Regions from separate parts of the Homo sapiens genome. Here region 1 is linked to region 2. The links are contacts of gene promoters, found by promoter capture Hi-C in human tissues and cell types (Jung and others, 2019). All regions are on one chromosome and are shown on one strand. The core of a region is centred on a gene start or on the middle of the fragment in contact, and the rest is flanking DNA. Distances in the headings are between cores, read along the strand shown.

What was found. The method cuts DNA at HindIII sites, captures the fragments that hold promoters and counts their contacts. A contact is called where the count stands out against the background at its distance.
Region 1: a fragment that was not itself captured here is called in contact with the fragment with the promoter of ADAM33 in region 2 in 3 of the 25 tissues and cell types used here (dorsolateral prefrontal cortex, lymphoblastoid cells and mesenchymal stem cells).

What each region holds. Positions count from the first base shown.
Region 1 is chr20:3,559,827-3,564,195 of GRCh38, reverse strand. It overlaps ATRN (attractin), which reads right to left. Exons shown (of 29, transcript NM_139321.3): 8 at 3,291-3,534; 9 at 1,737-1,920; 10 at 833-987. Among named protein-coding and RNA genes, the nearest start is that of ATRN, 91 kb to the right of the region's middle. The HindIII fragment of the contact is 4,783 bases long and covers 363-4,369 here.
Region 2 is chr20:3,680,254-3,684,492 of GRCh38, reverse strand. ADAM33 (ADAM metallopeptidase domain 33) reads left to right here and starts at 2,483. Exons shown (of 22, transcript NM_025220.5): 1 at 2,483-2,585. The coding sequence starts at 2,489. RefSeq lists an enhancer at 2,165-3,058. The HindIII fragment of the contact is 20,528 bases long and covers 1-4,239 here.

The DNA.
Region 1 (4,369 bases), core at 1,505-4,004, 120 kb after region 2:
TGAGGCTAAGGGCTTTAAGTTATTCATCTGATCTCCTCAATGTACAAACTGAGTGGCTGGCACACAAATGTCTGTTAAAAACGAATGTCTGACTTGGAATAGTCAAAATCACAGAGACAGACTGTAGAATAGTGGTTGCCAGGCATTGTGGGGAGGAAGAAATGGGACATTATTGTTTAATGGGTATACAGCTTCAGTCTTACAAGATGAAGACAGTTCTGAAGATGGATGGCGGTGATGGATTTATAACATTATGAATGTGTTTAGTATCACTAAACTAGACATTTAAATATAGTTAGGATGGTAAATTTTATGTGTATTTTACCACAATCAAAAAAATAATAATTTGTTTAAAATGAACATCTGACAATTTTTATGAAAGAGATCATCCGGTATGCATTTGCTTTGCATGAACAAATACTGCCCTCTTCTGGTCTGGTATATTGCCACACCAAGACCATGTGAGAAACCAGTTTTCTAGGGAATGAGATAAAGCTAATACGTGAACCAATTTTAACACAATGCTGGTGGTTGCAACTATGTAACACTACCAGGTAGGCATAACATGACAAAGGAGAGACTAGACACCTCAACTCAGCCTTAAAAATTAGCATTCAAGCAATTAACAGGAGTGATTTCAAAAAGAATTTAATGTAGAAATAATTTTTACCAGATGTGTAACATTAGTCAAATGAATATAAAAAATACCATTTGGACCTCTTTCAAATGGCCTGATCATTTTGAACTGGCAATATTTTCAGTCTCCTTTTAAATGCTGCTTATAGTATAGGCAAAAAGATGCCTGAAGAGAAAATGGTTTTGGGAAACTTACCAATGTCATAGGCCATGAAATCTGAAGAGAAGCATTTGGCGCCATGGCTCATAGATGTGTCATTGTGTGTGTTTCCTCCAAACACCAGCATGGTTCCACTCACTATCACAGCTGTGTGCAAGTAACGGAAAAATCGGCTGTCCTTAAGAATGGTCCTTTTGAGTTTATTTAGAAATAATAAATACAAGGTTAGTTTTTAAAGAATATTTATGTATCTGCTAATGCAAGCACAACCACTTTATTAACCTCAGACCCAAATGTACAAATCCTTCCAGAGTTTTCCCTACATAAAAGTAAGTTTTTCAACAATAAATACAGATAATTTTAAAGACCTGTAAGAGTTTTGGCAAAATATATTAAGAACCTTAAACTCTTCATACCCCGTAGCTATATAATTCCAGTTTCTGGGCAGAAATCATGTGAAATATTGACAGAAGCTTAATGCATAATGGTTTCTTAATGACATAAAAACTAGAAAGAAACCAAAACTTTCACCTGCATAGTCTCAGCATACCCACAAAATGGAGTATTGCACAGCTACTAAAAATGATTATTTTTATGACAGAATATAAAACAGTACCCATAGCAAGGTATCAAACATGTGAGGAAAAAGAGGAGAAACCATCGCTTTATAATTACATTATTTCGTAACTCAAATTTGCTTTACATTTGTTAAAAAACTCTAAGTATTTTCTAACCAACCTGCTACAGAATTACAGAATAACGTAACAAAATAAATACTAGCTACTTTATTACCCTCTGTTTATTTCCCAATTTCTCTATATATAATGCCGAACAGAATTATCTGCCAGGCATGAAAACAAAAAGATAGCACAATATTTTCTCCACAATTGCCTCTACAGAATTTACACCTTAAAGTGAAAGCTCAAGAAAAAGTACCCACCACATCTGGGTATCCACATCATATCGGTAGAGATCATCTGCAAGCCGGTACTTATTGGCACTGAAAGCCTTGTAGCCACCATGAACGTATAGGGCCCTGGTCCTATGGTCGTAAACACTGCTATGGCCGTAACCCCCTTGCACAAGGGCACCCTGGGTGTGTAATATACTCCATGTGTTCTTATCTGGAAAGGAAAGACAGTTAAAGGCAAGCATGGCAGGCTCCTCCTCTCTACTACTGAAAATGTCCAAAGAGCTTAGGGCATGAGAATGGATTTCAGGAGACCTGATACATATACTTTTTTATCTTTATATTTTAAAGAAAGCCACCTAAAACTTATAACAAAGCCATGTGGCCCAATTCCAGTCTGTTCTATGTTCTGATGTTCTAATATGCCATGTAGGAAAAGAATTAACTAAATTTAAAACACTCAGGGCCAGGCGAAGTGGCTTACATGTGTAATCCCAGCACTTTGGGAGGCTAAGGTGGGAGGATCACTTGAGGCCTGCTATGTTGGCCAGCCTGGGCAACATAGCAAGATCCCATCTCTACTAAAATTAAAAAATTAGCCAGGAGTGGTGGCACGCACCTGTAGTCCCAGCTACTAGGGAGGCTAAGGTGGGAGGATCACTTGAGGACAGGGCATCAAGGCTGCAGTGAGCTATGATTGTGCCACTGCACTCCAGCCTGTGTGAGAGAACAAGAGCCTGTCTCAATAAATAAAATGTTCACTCAAATGAACATTTAATTCCCTACAACCTTTGGTGACCAATATACAGATATATTTTATAGGCCTACTTTCACAAAATGTTAATTATACCTGGTATTCCTACTGCACAACAACAGATACAATGAAATTTAACCAAGGGAAATATTTCATATTAAGGGTAAATCATACTCCACTAAACCAATCTCTAAAGGGCTGGGCAAATATTTTTTTTCTTCAATATTTATTGTTTTGAACCATTTTTATTTATTTATTTTAAATACCCAAAGCACTTTGCGTCATCTTTGGCTCCTTACCAAATTGACAGTAACAAATACATACTACATAGGAGCATCGATAATCTGCATTTCACTGGTAATACATCAATGTTAACTATGTTGCTTTTGTTTGTTTGTTTGTTTGTTTGTTTTGAGACGGAGTCTCACTCTGTCCCCCAGGCTGGAGTGCAGTGGTGCAATCTTGGCTCACTGCAACCTCCACCTCCCGGGTTCAAGCGATTCTCCTGCCTCAGCCTCCTGAGTTGCTGGGATTATAGGTGCCCGCCACCAGGACAGGCTAATTTTTGTATTTTTAGTAGAGACAGGGTTTCACCATGTTGGTGCCAGGCTGGTCTTGAACTCCTGACCTTAGGTGATCCGCCCGCCTCAGCCTCCCAAAGTGCTGGGATTACAGGAGTGGGCCACCACGCCTGGGCCCAGTGTTTACTATGTTTCAAGATAAAGTACCGAATCAAGATTAGGTTGAACTTTTCTAAACAGTCAAAATAATAAGCTTAGAGGTTTTAAATCTGATGTTCAAAAGGCATCTACTGGAAAAAATATACCTACCCAAATCATATTCCTGCACATTGCTTATATATCCATAGAGAGGGCAGTGACCAAAGATGACCAGCATGACCACTCGGCCATTCTTCAGTGTAACAATGTGTGCAGAGTGCCCAACCACTGCATACTGCTCCTTTGCCTTAGGGGTCAACAACACCCATGACTCATTATGAATGTGAAAAACTCTCAACTCATTGGTCACATTCCCAGTTGAATCAATTTTTCCTCCATACATGTAAATTTTATCCTAGGAAAAAAATGCAAACAAAATTTTTAAAAACATTGAAAAGATTAAATCTGAGAACAGAGAAGAACAAAAGCTCAATATTATTCTCAGCTTAAAAAAGGTTAGTCAAGAAACTAAAAATAGAACTACCCTATGATCCAACAATTTCGATACTGGGTATATATCCAAAAGAATGGAAATGAACATATCAAAGAGATATCTGCACTCCCATGTTAATTGCAGCACAATTGACAATAGCCAAAACATGGAATCAACGTGTCTATCAATGGATAATTAGATAAAGAAAATGTGGTGTATATATACACAATGGAGCATTATTCAGCCGTTAAAAAGAATGACATCCAGTCATTTTGTAGCAACATGGACTGAACTGGAGGTCATTATGTTAAGTAAAATAAGCCAAGCACAGAGACAAATATCACATTATCAATCATATGTGGGAACTAAAAAAGTGGATCTCATGAAGATAGAGAGTAGACTGGTGGTTACCAGAGGCTGGCAGGCTGGTGGGGGAGAATGAAGAAGGAAAAAAAGAATGTAAATATATTTATTACCACCAAACTGTACACTTAAAAATGGTAAAGATGGTACCATTATATACGTATATTTTACCTCAGTAAAAAATAAATTAAAAAAAATTTTAAGGGTTAGCAAAAGGCGCCTTTCAGTGAGTTACTAGGAAAAGGATAAAAAAAGGGAAAAGGGAAATAAAACTAATCATATTTTACATCTCTAATACTTCACCAGTTTTCTTGGACTTCCTCACATGAATCTTTTATAGTATAAAAGGACTTGGAAAAATAAAGTTGCCTCATCCTACCATCTATCTATAAAA
Region 2 (4,239 bases), core at 1,234-3,733:
CTGGCCACTTAAAATAAGTGCATTTTATTGTGTGTAAATTATACCTTAATGAAGTTGATTTGAAAATCCAAAGTAGTAATAATAAGTAATAATCTCGTAGCTGGACAGCTGTGGTGACTCACTCCTGTAATTCCAGCGATTTGAGAAGCTGAGGCAGGAGGATCACTTAAGATCAGGAGTTCTTTTTATTTTTATTTTTATTTTTTGAGACGGAGTTTCGCTCTTGTTGCCCAGGCTGGAGTGCAATGGCATGATCTCGGCTCGCTGCAACCTCCACCTTCTGAGTTCAAGCGATTTTCCTGCCTCAGCCTCCCAAGTAGCTGGAACTACAGGCACTCACCACCATGCCCGGCTAATTTTTGTATTTTTAGTAGAGATGGGGTTTCACCATGTTGGCCAGACTGGTCTTGAACTCCTGACCTCCAGTGATCTGCCCGCCTCGGCCTCCCAAAGTGCTGGGATTACAGGCATGAGACACTGCGCCTGGCCAAGACCAGGAGTTTGAGACCAGCCTGGGAAACAAAGTGAGACCCCCCTGTCTACAGAAAAATTAAAAATTTTAGCTGGGCCTGGTGCCGTGTGCCTGTAGTTCCAGCTACTCAGGAGGCTGAGGTGGGAGGATACCTTGAGCCCAGGATTTCAAGGCTGCAATGAGGCATGATCAGGCCACTGTCCTCTAGCGTGGGTGACAGAGTGAGACCCTGTCTCTAAATAATAATCATAAGAACAACAAGGACCCTCTAAACGCACTGATATCTAAGGTGTATTAAGCGACCAAAAAAAAAAAAAAGAAAATCAAAGTGCAGAAAAACGTTAATAAGAGAAAAAAATATGTCTGTATTGTCTTGAGTGTGAAAAAATAATCTAAAAGCCTATGAAAGAAACTAATCATATTGGTTTCCTGTTGGTGAGGAGGGCTAAGAGCACGGAGACTTTTCCCTATGCTTTCTGTACTTTTTGATTTTGAGATATGTGAATGTAGGTTTCTCTCACTGCTCGAACTTTCACTAACCAAATTACTACATTCCAAATTCTCAAAAACAAATAGATTTACTTAAAAGTAGGCTGGGTGCGGTGTCTCACGCCTGTAATTCCAGCGCTTTGGGAGGCCGAGGCGGGCAGATCACCTGAGGTCGGGAGTTCGAGACCAGCCTGACCAACATGGAGAAACCCCATCTCTACTAAAAATACAAAATTAGCCAGGCGTGGTGGCGAATGCCTGTAATCCCAGCTACTCGGGAGGCTGAGGCAGAAGAATCACTTGAATCTGGGAGGCAGAGGTTGCAGTGAGCCCAGATCATGCCATTGCACTCCAGTCTGGGTAACAAGAGAGAAACTCTGTCTCAAAAAAAAAAAAAAAAAAAAAAGATTTGCTTAAAAGTTAACATCTCCGGCCGGGCGCGGTGGCTCATGCCTGTAATCCCAGCGCTTTGAGAGGCCGAGGCGGGTGGATCACGAGATCAGGAGATTGAGACCATCCTGGCCAAAATGGTGAAACCTCGTCTCTGCTAAAAATACAAAAGTTAGCTGGGGGTGGTAGCGCGCGCCTGTAGTCCCAGCTACTCGGGAGGCTGAGGCAGGAGAATCGCTTGAACCAGGGAGTCGGAGGTTGCAGTGAGCCAAGATCGCGCCGCTGCACTCCAGCCTGGCGACAGAGGGAGACTCCATCTCAAAAAAAAAAAAAAAAAAAAAGTTAACATCTCATCCAAATTTGCACCGAGTAGGAAAACAAAAGTTTAAAACATGAAACAGATGTTACTGAGGCCGAAAGGGTCTCCCAGGCCTGGGAGTCTGCAGCTTTTATGCAATTCTGCCCTCTGGCCACCGCCAGGGAAGAAAGGTTGTCTCCGTCTGCTGCATCGCCTTTGCCCAGCAATGAAGCCCCCAAGACAGCGGCAGCCGGTTGCCTGAACCTTCCTATCCTTGGGGGCACCCAGTGCAGGTGGATGACCCGACTCAACCTCCGCCAGGGCACCCTCGGGGCAGGACGGGTAGCAAGGAGGGGACAGAGATCGGCCCCAGGAGACCACGGAAGATCGCGCTCCTGGGGCCAACTTCAGCAGCGAGAGGCGGCCTTTGCCCACCGCCTCATCCCACCACGCCGCGGTCCTCCAAGAACCTTCCCAGCGGTTCTCTCCTCCTCTCAGGAGTAGAGGCCCTCTGAGACCGACGGGGAGGGACGGCTCGGGCCGGTCATCCGAGGGGCCGCACGGATTCCCTCCTCCGCCCAGCTCCACCCCCTCGAGGGGCGGCGGTCCGGGAGTGGCGACCCGGCTCCCCCATGGCGCGCGCCGTCGGGGCCCCTGGCCAGGCTCCGAGCGGGGTTGGCGGGGAGGGGAGGCGGGAGCGAGGGCGGGCGGTGGGAGGTGGGGGCGGGAAGGTCCGAAGGCGGCGGCCTGAGGCTGCACCGGGCACGGGTCGGCCGCAATCCAGCCTGGGCGGAGCCGGAGTTGCGAGCCGCTGCCTAGAGGCCGAGGAGCTCACAGCTATGGGCTGGAGGCCCCGGAGAGCTCGGGGGACCCCGTTGCTGCTGCTGCTACTACTGCTGCTGCTCTGGCCAGTGCCAGGCGCCGGGGTGCTTCAAGGTGAGGACGCGGGCGGGGTGCGCCCTGAGGGGCAGGCTAGGCGCGGTGGTGGTGGCGGGGATGGGTTCTGCTCAGAGCTCGGGTCAGCGCGCGGAGGGTCTCACGGCCCCGGCACCATACGGCCAGTAGGTCAGGGCGTGGGGACTCTTTGGGGGGGTCTCCGTGGGACCTGCCCAGGGACGCTCAAGTGTGCTTGGGCTGGCCCCGGGCCCGGACTTGCCCACACTGCCCGGCTGCCACTCCGCTGGCAAAGCAGAGGGCATGGCTCCCTCCCCCTCGGGGGCAGCCCAGCCCCCAGCCCATAGCCGTAGCCCCCTCTTCCTGGATTCTCGCTCTCACAACCAGCTTCCATCCGCAGGCCACCGTGTGACCCGCTCCTGCTCCTCCACCCCTTAGGACTCAGCGGGGCTCCGTCCTCTAGGAAGCCCCCATGCCCAAGAGTCCCCCAGAGTCCCTGCTTTGCTCTCAGGCTGCAGAACTAGCTGTGGCCTCCACCCTGCTCACCCCTCGTCCCTCCTCCCAGGGCAGCAGGGCAGTGTGTATGTTGTTTATATTGTTGCCTTGTTTGGTGAGATAGAGAAGGGCCTCTCCAGATAGAAGGTGTCTGTTTAGCAGTGCTCTGGGAAGACTGCAGCTGTCTCCTCGGGGTAACCCCTCCAAACAAAGATGTTAAGATGGGGCTGGAACAACCTCTGCAAGCGGGTGGGAGGATTAGCCAGTCCTGCACAGCAAGTGCCTGGCCGGGAACAGGGAGGGCAACCAGGGAGGGGGCATGCGGGGCTGGGCTGTGCTATGCAGACTGGGCGGTGGCTTCCACAGCACTGTGTGGGGACCAAACAGGTACAGGGGCCTGGTCTGTTCTGGCCCCAGGGGAGGGCCCCAGGCGGTCCACTGCTCCCTCCCCTCTGAGCCCTATCCTGGGGTCAGGGGAGGTGATGGGACCCCTGGGAGAGGGGCGTCTATGTGCCCAATACCAGCCTGGCTCCCTCGGGTTCCACCCCCATTCACCCGGTCACCGGAGCTCCAGCTCCAGCTCCAGCTCTGCCCCTCTCTCCCTCATTGGGGTCAGGGTGCCCGTGGCCAGCACGTGCGCGCAAGGCCATGTGGACAGCACCCACACACCACACTGCACCCACACCACACCTGTGCCCGGGCCCACCCTACCTCTTCCCCAAACCCTTAGAGGCCTAGGAGCAGCAAAGCTTGGTTCTCTACTCTCAGTTAAGTGCTCTCTGGGCTGAGAGACCTCCCCTCCTTCCCCTCCCCCACATCCACTCAGAGCCCTCCCTGCACTGGCCCCTCTAGCCTCCTTTCCAAGGTGGCAGACTCCTCTCGGCCCTCATCTGCCTGATGGCAATTCACTCATCCAATCAAGGAGGGCTTCTTGGAGGAAGGGTCTTTGATGTTTGTAGTCTGGGAGAGAAGGTGGAGGAGAAAAAAGGAGTTGGGGTGGCCTAGCAGGAGCTGAGTCACTTCCACAGGCAGCCATCAGCCCAGCAGGACTGAGGCCAGGGCTGCGTGGAGGGGGGAGGCTGTCTGTTCTGGGAGCTGGGACTGGGTACCGGGGGAAGGAGGGCTGCTGCAGGCTCTGGGTGCCTGGGGCCTGGCTCCTGCAGGGCGGGCCTGTGAGAGTGGTTGGGGCCAGTGGAGGGCT